3 separate regions of the Homo sapiens genome follow, and all the other regions are linked to region 3. The links are contacts of gene promoters, found by promoter capture Hi-C in blood cells and fetal thymus (Javierre and others, 2016). All regions are on one chromosome and are shown on one strand. The core of a region is centred on a gene start or on the middle of the fragment in contact, and the rest is flanking DNA. Distances in the headings are between cores, read along the strand shown.

The links. The method cuts DNA at HindIII sites, captures the fragments that hold promoters and counts their contacts. A CHiCAGO score of 5 or more calls a contact.
Region 1: a contact is called between the fragment with the promoter of ZNF589 here and the fragment with the promoter of UCN2 in region 3, in 1 of 17 cell types (naive CD4 T cells). The highest score is 5.0, in naive CD4 T cells.
Region 2: a contact is called between a fragment that was not itself captured here and the fragment with the promoter of UCN2 in region 3, in 9 of 17 cell types (fetal thymus, naive CD4 T cells, naive CD8 T cells and 6 more). The highest score is 8.5, in fetal thymus.

What each region holds. Positions count from the first base shown.
Region 1 is chr3:48,239,160-48,242,907 of GRCh38, forward strand. ZNF589 (zinc finger protein 589) reads left to right here and starts at 1,945. Exons shown (of 4, transcript NM_016089.3): 1 at 1,945-2,055. The coding sequence starts at 2,013. RefSeq lists enhancers at 1,100-1,394, 1,712-2,629, 1,820-2,114. The HindIII fragment of the contact is 4,371 bases long and covers 1,278-3,748 here.
Region 2 is chr3:48,270,018-48,274,048 of GRCh38, forward strand. ZNF589 (zinc finger protein 589) reads left to right here. Exons shown (of 4, transcript NM_016089.3): 4 at 1-973. Among named protein-coding and RNA genes, the nearest start is that of NME6, 29 kb to the right of the region's middle. The HindIII fragment of the contact is 2,563 bases long and covers 1,261-3,823 here.
Region 3 is chr3:48,560,952-48,565,030 of GRCh38, forward strand. UCN2 (urocortin 2) reads right to left here and starts at 2,830. Exons shown (of 2, transcript NM_033199.4): 1 at 2,752-2,830; 2 at 767-2,185. The coding sequence starts at 2,173. The coding sequence ends at 1,835. It overlaps COL7A1 (collagen type VII alpha 1 chain), which reads right to left. Exons shown (of 119, transcript NM_000094.4): 118 at 3,832-4,029; 119 at 3,122-3,471. The coding sequence ends at 3,455. It also overlaps a transcript of PFKFB4 not described here. The HindIII fragment of the contact is 21,136 bases long and covers 1-4,079 here.

The DNA of each region.
Region 1 (3,748 bases), core at 695-3,194, 320 kb before region 3:
TCACGCCTGTAATCCCAGCACTTTGGGAGGCCGAGGCGGGTGGATCATGAGGTCAGGAGATCGAGACCATCCTGGCTAACAAGGTGAAACCCCGTCTCTACTAAAAATACAAAAAATTAGCCGGGCGCGGTGGCGGGCGCCTGTAGTCCCAGCTACTGGGGAGGCTGAGGCAGGAGAATGGCGTGAACCCGGGAAGCGGAGCTTGCAGTGAGCCGAGATTGCGCCACTGCAGTCCGCAGTCCGGCCTGGGCGACAGAGCGAGACTCCGTCTCAAAAAAAAAAAAAAAAAAAAAAAAAAAACCAACCAAAAAAAAAAAGAATCCAAAAATATTAGCGGGGTATGGTGGTGCGTGCTTGTAATCCCGGCTACTCAGGAGGTTGAGGCAGGAGAATCGCTTGAACCCAGGAGAGGGAGGTTGCAGTGAGCCGAGATGGCACCACTGCACTCCAGCATGGTAGACAGAGTGAGACTCCGTGTTCTTTTCCCTAAAAAAAAAAAAAGAGTAATTGGGGAAGTTGTGCTTCAAAAGAGTAATTGGGGAAGTTGTGCGTCTTAGGGCCTCTGGAATAATGGCTGGTAATATTTAGAATTCCAGCCCTTCTCATCCTAATTTGGTGGCTGGTGGCCTTTCATTCATTTTACAAGAACAGTTTAGCCCTTGGGAAGGGCTATTATTTAAGCTATAAACTGAATTCCTTCCCAAGGCTACTTTGGCCTATGCCCAGAAGTGGACAAAGACAGTTTAGAGGTTGAAAGGAAGATGAGGTGGGTTAGATCTGATATCTTTTACTGTCATTGATAAGGCTCTGATGACTGGAGGAACACCAGGGTCCTTGGTCTCTGATAGGCTTAATAACACAGACACACGTGGAGTGGTTTTAAGGAGCGAAAAGTTTAATAGGCAAGAAAGAAGGAAGGAAGACGAAAACAGCTCCCCCATACAGAGACAGAGGGAGCGGGGATTCCAACAAAGAGAAAGCGCCGTGTGCGGAAAAGTGGCTGCTTATCTGAGGATGCTGGAGGAGGCGGTGTCTGGTTTCCATAGGGCTCAGGGGATTAGTTTGATCAGATGTGTCATTTATGTGGCAGCCAAAAACCTGGCCCTCCCACCCTAGCTTTTTAATATGCAAATGTAGGGCTCCATGAAGTTCTACACACGTGGGAATATGTGGGGGGTGGCCATGTTGCCAGGCACATGTCAGGGCAAAGAAAAGGACGGCGGGAATCGCCATGTTTGGGTGCGTCCAGTTTCTAATGGCCTGTATTTCCATATCAAAGCTTGCCATCCTGCTCTAGGAGCCCAGGCTTTCCTGCTAGACAAGAAACCTTTCTGGAGCTGCTTTAAAAGAAACAAAAACTTCCCAAGGACCCCTTTCCTTCTCTATCTGCTTAAAATAATTTCTTAATAACTCCTATAACATCATAATTTCCTTAGGTATAATTTTGCAAAGGCGGTTTCAAAAGCTCTTTGGGGTCCTCAGTAATTTTTAAGAGTGTAAAAGGATTTTAACAACAACAAGTTTGCGAACCACTGTCCTTGAGAAGCTCTCCATGGATGCGCATGAGTCTGTCCAATTGGAGTCCTGGTGTATTTCTACATTAGATACCACACAGCAGTGAACACACAATGAACAGGTCAACACGTGTCATTATAGAACTGCGCAAAAGAGCTAGTAGCAGGCATTGTAAGTGTATTTATATAATGTTTACAACCATGGAAAACAACACTATATTTTGCTTATGGGTACCTGTGGTAAGCACAACCCCAAATATTGCGGCCGAGGGGGACCTAGAAGGTCAAAGTGCGCCTCAGCATTTTCTCTCGCCCTGCACAAGCCGCATTTCGCCCCGAGAACTACGCTTCCCGGCAGGCTGCGCGCCGCGCGGTGACGCACTTCACCCAGTCCTGCTTCTTTCTTCTGGCGCCGCCAGTGGCCCGCGGTGCGCATTCTAATCCGTTTCACACACGGTGCTGCTACCTCGTTTGCTTCGTGCGTGCGTGCGCGCGCAGATGTGGGCCCCGCGGGAGCAGCTACTGGGCTGGACTGCGGAAGGTGAGTCGGGGCCGCGAGATCGCCTCCCCCATTCGGTGCTCCAGCCGCAGGCGCCGCGCAGGCGTCGGCCGTATCCACCAGGGATGCGCGTGGGGTGCGAGCTGTGTGAGGCGCTGACTACCCCTACAGCGGCTCTTACTCCCCTGGGGGGCCAGGTTCCTCCCTAGGTGTCCCGTACAGTCTCCACGGTGCTCACTCCACGACTCTTCACCGGGCATCCTGCACTTGTGCACTCCGGCAGTCATTGGCCATAAATGGCTGCTGAGCATTTGAGATGTGTGGAGTGCAACTGAAGAACAGCATTTTGTATTATTATATTATATCATATTTATTTTGAGACGGAGTCTCGCTCTGTCGCCCAGGCTGGAGTGCAGTGGCGCGATCTCCGTTCACTGCAATCTCCGTCTCCCGGGTTCAAGCAGTTCTCTGCCTCAGCCTGCCGAGCAGCTGGGATTACAGGCGCCCTCCACCACGCCTGGCTAATTTTTGTATTTTTAGTAGAGACGGGGATTTCACCATGTTGGCCAGGCTGGTTTTGAACTCCAGACCTCGTGATCCGCCCACCTCGGCCTCCCAAAGTGCTGGGATTACAGGCGTGAGCCACCGCGCCCGGAGTATATTATATTTTTATATTTTTTGAGTCGGTCCGGAGTGCAGTGGCGGGATCTAGGCTCACTGCAGCCTCCGCTTTCCCAGGCTCAAGTGATTCTCGTGCCTCAGCTTCCGGAGTAGCTGGGATTACAGGCGGCGCCTCACCACCCCGGCTGTTGTATTTTTAGTAGAGAGGGGATTTCGCCATATTTGCCAGGCTGGTCTCGAACTCCTGGCCTCAAGCAATCCACCCACCTTGGCCTCCCACAATGTTGGGATTACAGGTGTTAGCCACCCCACCCGGCCCAAAAGACTTTTTTTTTGGAGACAGAGTCTTGCTCTGTAGCCCAGGCTGGAGTGCAGTGGGCGATCTCTGCTCACTGCAACCTCTTTCTCCCAGGTTCCAGCGATTCTCCTGCCTCAGCCTACCAAGCGGCTGGAATTACAGGGACACGCCACCACGCCCGGCTATTTTTTTGTATTTTTAGTAGAGGCGGGGTTTCATCATGTTGGCCAGGCCGGTCTTGAACTCCTGACCCCAGATGATCCACCTGCCTCGGCCTCCCAAAGTGTTGGGATTACAGGTGGGAGCTACCACACCCGGCCCCAAATGACTTTGGATGTAACAACAGGAACAGTCTAGAACAGGGCTGGGCAAATTTTTTTCTGTTTGGTTTTTTTAGAAACAGGGTCTCCCTATGTTGCCCAGGCTGGTCTCCAACTCCTGGGCTCAAGGGATCCTCCCGCCTCGGTCTCCCAAAGTGCTAGGATTATAGGCGTGAGCCACTGCACCTGGTCTTGCAAACGTTTTCTTTTAAGGGCCAGGTGGTAAATGTTTCAGGCTTTGTAGGCCACACGGTCTTTGTTACGACTAGTGGTCTGCTGTTGTGTGAAAGCAGCCAAAGACCATAGGTAAACGAATGAGCATTGCCGTGTTCCAATAAAACTTTCTTTATAGACATTGAAATTTGAATTTTGGCTGAGTGCAGTGGCTCACGCCTGTAATCCCAGCACTTTGGGAGGCCAAGGCAGGAGGATCTCTTGAGCCCAGGAGTTCAAGACCAGCCTGGTCAACATGGCAACACCCCATCTCTACTTTAAA
Region 2 (4,031 bases), core at 1,292-3,791, 290 kb before region 3:
TCTGAGAGCAGAGGTGTCAAGTGACGGTCCCCTTGGAGGAATGGTCTTTGCATCTGACTACTTCCTTCTGCAACTGTGTTCTTCCATTAGCTTCCATGACACTCTCCTGCTTTATTTTTTTCTACATCTCTAGCCTTTGCTGTTTCCTCTCCTACCCCACCTTTAGATTTTACTCAGAGTTCAGTCTCCAGCCCTACAATCTGAGGGACACCTTTACCAGGTCCCCTTCCTAACCCTCCAGTCCCAAATCCAAGATTCTTTAACCACACTCTAAAAGTTCTTCAGACTCAGGACTTAAACATAGCCACGCCACCTTGGCCTTCAATGACAGGGATCTAGCAATGCTGCATCATCAGCCTTCCAATACCAGGTTTAAGGGTATTTTAAACACAGCTCCTCTTAAATCCTCCAATCTCAGTACCCAGTGTTTTAGCCATGCTCGGGTGGCTAAATTACATCCAGGAATGGTGCCAGGGCCTTTAGCCATTTGTCTCTCCTCACACTCCAGGGCCCATATGGCCCAGGTTCTGACAGTTTGCCTTACTCCCTTGGGCTGGGGCTAGCCCTACCTGATACCCTGTGTCAATGAGTGTACCTTGGAGAGCTATCCACTCAGGCCCCAGTGCCTCTATTTGCTAAGGGACTCTGCCACAGAAAAGAAGGGGAGAGATGTTCATGTAACCTCAAAATACTTAGGCTTGGTTTTGATGCTAGAGAGGAAAAAGGACTTGGAGAGAGAGAAGGAATGGCTGGTCCAGAGGCTTTTGTCCACTCCCTCTCACTGGAAGTGGTTGATCTCCAGGGAATCCCCAAGGTTAGCCTGCTTAGGGGAAGGGCTAGGGGTACCTGGAATGTAGGATCTCCCCCATGCCTGGCCTACCACCCTAATGTGTCTGGAATTGGTGGGTTCTTGGTCTTGCTGACTTCAAGAATGAAGCCGTGGACCCTCACGGTGAGTGTTACAATTCTTAAACATGGTGTGTCTGGAGTTTGTTCCTTCTGATGTTCGGACGTGTCCAGAGTTTCTAACTTCTGGTGGGTTTGTGGTCTCGCTTAGGAGTGAAGCTGCAGACCTTAGCAGTGTTACGGCTCTTAAAGGCAGCGCATCTGGAGTTGTTAGTTCCTTCCGGTGGGTTCGTGGTCTTGCTGGTTTCAGGAGTGAAGCTGCGGACCTTTGCGGTTAGTGTTACAGCTCTTAAAGGCGGCGCGGACCCAAAGAGTGACCAGCAGGAAGATTTATTGTGAAGAGTGAAAAAACAAAGCTTCCACAGCATGGAAGGGGACCTGAGTGGCTTGCCGCTGCTGGCTCGGGTAGCCTGCTTTTATCCCCTTATCCGGCCCCACCCACATCCTGCTGATTGGTCCATTTTACAGAGAGCATATTGGTCCGTTTTGACAGGGTGCTGATTGGTGCATTTACAATCCCTGAGCTAGACACAGAGTGCTGATTGGTGCATTTACAAGCCTCTAGCTAGACAAAAATTTTCCAAGTCCCCACTAGATTAGCTAGACACGCGTTTACAAACCTTTAGCTAGACACAGTGCTGATTGGTGCGTTTACAATCCTTTAGCTAGACACAAGTTCTCCAAGTCCCCGCTAGATTAGCTAGACACAGAGCACTGATTGGTGCGTTTACAAACCTTGAGCTAGACACAGAGTGCTGATTGGTGCATTTACAATCCTCTAGCTAGACATAAAAGTTTTCCAAGTCCCCACCAGGTTAGTTAGATACAGAGTGCTGATTGGTGCATCCACAAACCCCGAGCTAGACAGAGAGTGCTGCTTGGTGCATATACAATCCTCCAGCTAGACAAAAGTTCTCCAAGACCCCACCCAACTCAGGAGCCCAGCTGACTTCCCCTAGTGGATCCCGCACTGGGGCTGTGGGTGGAGCTGCCTGCTAGTCCTGTGCCTCACACCTGCACACCTCAGCCCTTGGGCGGTCGATGGGACGGGCAGCGCCTGTCGGGGAGTCTCGGGCTGCATGCGAGCCCATGGCGGTCGGGGGTGGCTTGGGCATGGCAGGCCGCAGGTCCCAAGCCCTGCCTCATGGGGAGGCGGCTGAGGCCCGGTGAGAATTCAAGTGCGGCGTGGGCAGGCTGTCAGTGCTGGGGGACCCGGTGCACCCTCTGCAGCTGCTGGCCCGGGTGCTAAGCCCCTTAATGCCTGGGGCCTGTGGTGCCGGCCGGCCGCTCCGAGTGTGGGGGCCCCCGAGCCTGCGCCCACCCGGAACTCATGCTGGCCTGCGAGCCCCATGCGCAGCCCTGGTTCCCACCTGCGCCTCTCCCTCCACACCTCTCTGCCAGCCAAGGGAGCTGGCTCCGGCCTCGACCAACCCAGAGAGGGGCTCCCACAGTGCAGCGGCTGGCTAAAGGGCTCCTCAAGCGTGGCCAGAGCGGACGCTGAGGCCGGGGAGGCGCTGAGAGTGAGCGAGGGCTGCTAACACGTTGTCACCTCTCACTATTGCTGCCCCTTTCCCATGGCCTGAGCTAAAAGCCATAGAAAGTGTGTGTATGTGTGTGTGTTTAGGGGTTGCTGGGCAGGGGAAGGGTGGGACACCATCATTCCACAAGACCTCGAAGTTACTCCTCCCATAGAAAAATGAAAGTGGAAAAATTAGTGATCATACATCTACTTTAAACATGAGAGGGAGAAAAAAGTGTTCATTTTCTATTAAAATCCATGTAGGCACTGTCGAGATACCACACAGATCTGGTCCGGCAAGAGGACTGTCAGGTCCAGGCAGTCATAGGAAGAGATTGTAAGCTGCAGTAAATCTGAGTCTCTCTTCAAAGGGTTTAGCCTGCTAACTTCCTTATCCTTGTTCTCAAATTCAACTTTCTTGTTCTTCCTTACCCCTAGTTACTGTAAACAGCCTACCCCATTCTCGTCAGCTTTAATCAATAATTCACATCTGTTCCCTTGGTTACCTGTACCCATTGTTCCCCCGAAACTGCACGCCTCACACTCCACCTCTGTAACTCATGTCCCCCTCCCCTTCTATAGTTAGGAAAATATGTACAAGTGGCCAATTGGGTCAGCTCAGATTGTGCAGTCTGACCCCAGCCCATGGGGGGAGTGACACAGAGATAGGGACTGTGTTAAGGATAAAAATCCCCTGGTCTCCTTTGTTCTCTGTGCTCTTGTGATCTTGATTGACACAAGTGGCACCGTTCCGCAGAAGTAAATTACCTTGCTGAGAGAAATTAAACTTTTGCCTGAGTGCTGGTTTTACTTCATGGCACCGAGCATTTCATCCTAGAGCATTTTATATCCAACAATTCTGGGGGCTCGTCTGGGATTCCCATTCTCCTTCGGGAAGGGGTCTTCAGTCACCCTACCCAGGGGAGACACTTCCCACTGCCCTGTTGCGGTGGCCCTCAGGGATGGGAGATCGAGACCCACCTGTTGTGACGAATAAACCTGGACTCTCAGCAACGCGGGGAAGAGAGACTTGCAATACTGCGGCGACCAGGTAAACTGCACAGACCAAGGTAGAAAACGTCGCAGGGGCAACAAATTACTTCTTTAGTGGTTTTGCGGGGGTCGGGGCATTCTGGAGGTTGAAAGTGCATGAATGGTAACAAGCACTACTGCTGTGCGGAGTGAGACCAATCTGCAGTTCCGTGGTCATCTCATATGGCTTAGGGCGGCCCTTTGGGGGTCCCGTCAGGGGTTTATACTGACCCCCCATGAATGCTAAAAGTGACCTGGAACATTCCCTCAAGGGAAGCGGCCAGAGCGTGAAGGTTGCAGTGAAAGAAGGGTGCAAGGAATCTCCAGCAGGTGGAGCTAAAGGATAGGCGAATTGTGCCTTAGCAAAGCTTCCAGTGAAGGACAGGCAAGAGACCCCTAATACGAGGGGTTGAGCCAGAAGGAACCCCCCAAATAGGCAGGAGATCCCTAATATGAGGGGTTGAGCCACAGAAAGCCCCCACTAGGCAAGAGATTCCTAATACGAGGGATTGAGCCTAGCCAGGACCCAGTATGGTAAATAATACAAGCAAAAAAGATAAAGTTAGCAACAAAG
Region 3 (4,079 bases), core at 1,580-4,079:
GGAGAGACCCCCCAACACTCTCGCACCCCTCCAGCACCACCCTGACTTCATCCAGGTCTTTCCCTAACCCTCCACCCTCCCCACGCTGTCCCGTGCCTACCCCGCCTGCTGCTCCCCGGCCCCAGGTCGGTCAGGGAGCTGCCTCCTAACGAGCCTCTGTCCATCCTGCAACCAAACTGGCCAGGGCCACTGCCCCCTGCAGCTCCAGAGTGGGGTAACCCCGCCTAGCACTCTGAAGAGAGAGAAGCGACTCCTGCGGCTCCTGCAGCCCCGCCTCCCCAGCCCACTGTAGGCCCGCCCCCACAGGGCTGCTTACAACTGTGAGGGCAGCGCCAGTGCCCCCACTCCAGTCAGCCGGCCACGCTGTGGCCAGTACAGTCTCCCTCTCCCGCCAGAGCTGCCCATGCCACCCAGCGTCTGCCTTCATGTCCACCTAGAGTTGTCTGCACAGCCCAGAGTGCCTGCCCCCTCTGCGGGCAAGCCCGTCCACACTGCCTGGAAAGTCAGTTCTGTCTCTGGCCCAGCAATGGAGTTGGGCTGTGAAATCAGGCAAAACCTAGTCCTTCCAAACCAAGGGACCAGGTCAGTTAACCGGGGAGCTAGGGAGGAAGGCAGAGAAGCCAGGTATGACTCACCCACCATGTGTCGCGGCCTGGGTGCACACCACTGGGATTCTCGCACATCCCATCCTTCAGTCGCTTTGTGTTTATTGAGCACCTCCTGCTGCAGGACCTCCATGTCTGCTACATACACAATGCTCACAGGCTTGCTGGTCCCATCCTTCAGTCGCTTTGTGTTTATTGAGCACCTCCTGCTGCAGGACCTCCATGTCTGCTATATACACAATGCTCACAGGCTTGCTGGTGTCGCTTTGCTTTACAGATAAGGAAACCGAGGCTCGGAAAGGTGAACACCTTTGCCCAGGACAGTCCGTGCGTGAAGTGGGACAGAGTTTGGTTGGAGCTCCGGCAGCCTGAGCCCTGTCTCCTGTGAGCCCTGCATGTCCCTGGGTCGAGGCTGGGGATGCAGGGGTACGTGGGGAGGACAGGGCCTGGCCAGGAGTTGTTCTTGCTTCATGCAGGTTTGGGGGACAAGCACCCACTCCTCTCAGACCCCTCACGTACCCTTACCCTGCTCACACACACTCACAGCTGTCAGAGACTCAGCCACACACGCACATATGCGCCCATAAGACAAGGCTGCCATGGTCACAGGCTTCCTGTGTTCGGGCCTTTGTGCCTGGAGACACCCCTCACAGCCCCGTCCATCTGGGGCAGGTGCTGCCTCATGGGGCACAGAGCAAGCAAGTGACCCTCAGCCAGCATTTCTCTGTGTGGTGGCCTATGGGATGACAGACCTGTGGGCCTCAGAGGGACTGGTCGGAGGCAGTGTTGAGCTCTCGTGTTGAGGCTCCTGAAAGTAACATGATGATGACTGCATGTGGCGGTGTCCAGGTGTTCTGTGACTATGGGGCACCCAGACATAGCAAGACTCGCCACAGCAGTGACCTTACGTGGCAGCATCCAAGCTGTCCGGACATATATTAGGTCTGTGGGGCACACAGGCATGGCAAGACTCCATGTGGCAGTGACCCAACTTAGCAATGTCCAATGTCCAGGCTGTCCAGACACACTGTGACTCTGTGGGGCACTCAGATCTGATATGACCTGCATGACAGTGGCTCCATGTGGCAGTGTCCAGACACTGTATGCCCAGATGTGGCAGCGTCCAGACACTGTATGCCCAGATGTGGCAGCATCCGTCCAGCTGTGTGGCTGCCCTCCAGGTCTTCCCATCCAGGGTGGCCCTATCACTGTGACCCCCTCTCTCAGGCTCAGCAGTGGCCGACACGGGCCAGGATGCGGGCGTTGGTGGTGGCCTGCTCCCTGGCAGCCCTGGCCCGGGCTTGCTCCAGTAAGATCTGCAAGAGGCCGATGGGGACATCCAGCGATAGGACAATGCGCGAGCCAGGGTGGCGGGTGGGGCTGCAGTGGCTCTGGGCAGCCCACGGCCATGTGGGAGCAGCTGAGGGGCTCTCTGAGGCCGCAGGTCGGGGAGTGGTCTGGGGAGAATTCTGAGGGCGGAGCTGGAAGGTTGGGATAGGGGTCACTGGGACAACCAGGACTCTGCCCAACATCAGGACCATCAGCAACAGCAGAGCACACCTGGTCATCGTGAGGTCAGGCTGCAAGGAGAAAATGGGCTCAGGGCAGGGGCTCTGGTCAACTGGGGTCCATGGACAGAGACAGATGGCAAGGGCAGAGTGACAGAGCGGGGGATGGAGAGAGAGGAAGACACCGAGAAAGGGGTTAGAGAGGCCAGGCCAGGCCAGAGACAGAGAAGGGGAGACAAGAGGAGAGCCAGAATGAGACAAAGAGGCAGAAAGCAAGACAGAAAAAAAGAAACAAAGAAATCCAGAGACAGAGGGACAGCAAGAGAGGGAGATGAAGGAGATGGAGGCAGAGCAAAATGGAGACTAGAAGAAAAAGACAGACAGAAACCATCCCAGAGACAGACAGCATGATGGAAAGAAAGATTCAGACAGAAACACAGAGTCCACAGGAGGGCAGGCGGTTCTCAGCAGGAGAGCTTGCAGCTGATCCAGGAAACAGAAGGGCAGGAATCGGATCTCAGAGGCAGAAAAGCAGCCAGAGATCCCAGAGTCCCCTGGGTCCAAGCCCTCCATAAAGCCAAACCCCACATCCACTCAACCTCCAAGACCCTTCCCATCCCGACCCAACCCAGTCCTACCGCCACCAGCTGCTTCTGGGGTAAGGCAGCCTGCTGTGGCTGCCTGGGGCTGGGGCCAGGCACTACTGTCCTGTGGTCTGACCCTCTACCCCGCTTCAGGGCCCATTTATCTCCCTCAGCCCCCTGGGGTGGGAGCTGGTACATGCTTCCTGGCATGAGGCAGCCCCCCACCTATGACTCATCCCTCCCGGGGGTGTCCTTAGCCCCCACCCTATCTACTCTTTTCCGGGGACAAGTTGGGGACTGAGAATCACAAGACAGTGACCAGGACTGGGCAGAGGGACTCTGTACCCATGCAGAATAATACCAACCCCCCAAGGAAAACCTTCCCCCTTGAAACCCCCCATCTTCCCAAACAGTCACAACAGGAGCCTTTTAAAACAGCAGCTTTAATGCCCCCCAGAATCAGCACCATGTCATCACAGGCTTGGGTCAAGGGGCGGGTCAGACGCCAGTCACATCCGCTCACTGCCCACAGCCACCCCCCCACAGTGAGTCATCTGCCAGGGTGGCAGGAGCCACAATGGGGGTTTGTCCACAGGGGGGAAGGCTAGACCCACGGGACCAAGTCACTGAAATAACGGACGTGCACACGCACGCTCACGTGCACACAAGCCTCTAGCACCAAGGGGAGGGACAGTGGGGTTCTGCTGAGACCCCGACTCCTCCAGGGGATGCTGAATCTCAGCTCATTATCTGGGCCTCAGTCCTGGGCAGTACCTGGTGAGGACAGGTTGGAAACGGTCGTCAGCCATCTGACCTTCCCCGGAGACGCTCAGGCAGAGGCACCGCCAAGGGGAGGGAGCGGAGGCTACAACAGGAAGTGGGGGCTCTGACCTCAGAGGGGTCCATACTTAGGTCTTTAAAGGAGGGAACATGGAAGGGGACCCTACTGGGGGCTCCACGGCTGGGGCTCTATATTCAGCTCTTTGGTCTGGGCGTCTGCCCCAGGTCCCCTACTGCGAGGGAGCGTCTCCTCCAGGACCCTGACCTGGAACCCTGGCCCAAGGACTCCTCCCCCAGAACCCGATCCAGGCAGGCTCAGTGCCCAGTTCCCCACGGTGGGGGCTCAGCCCATACCTGTCCCCTGGCTCTGGACCACCCGGGGTGGGCAGCGGCGCTCGCAGGCCTCACGGGTCCCAAAACGGTTGGCATTCCCTCCACAGCCACCATAGACAAAAGGGTGACAGGCCTCTGTGCTGCCTGTCACAGCCCGATGGTACCAGCGCAGGGTGTAGGCAGTGCAGGAGCCCTCATCCAGTGGCAGGGAACAGGGGTCTGGGCCAATGGGGTCAAGTCAGCAGGGTTTGTGGGAATCAGAGAGGGTT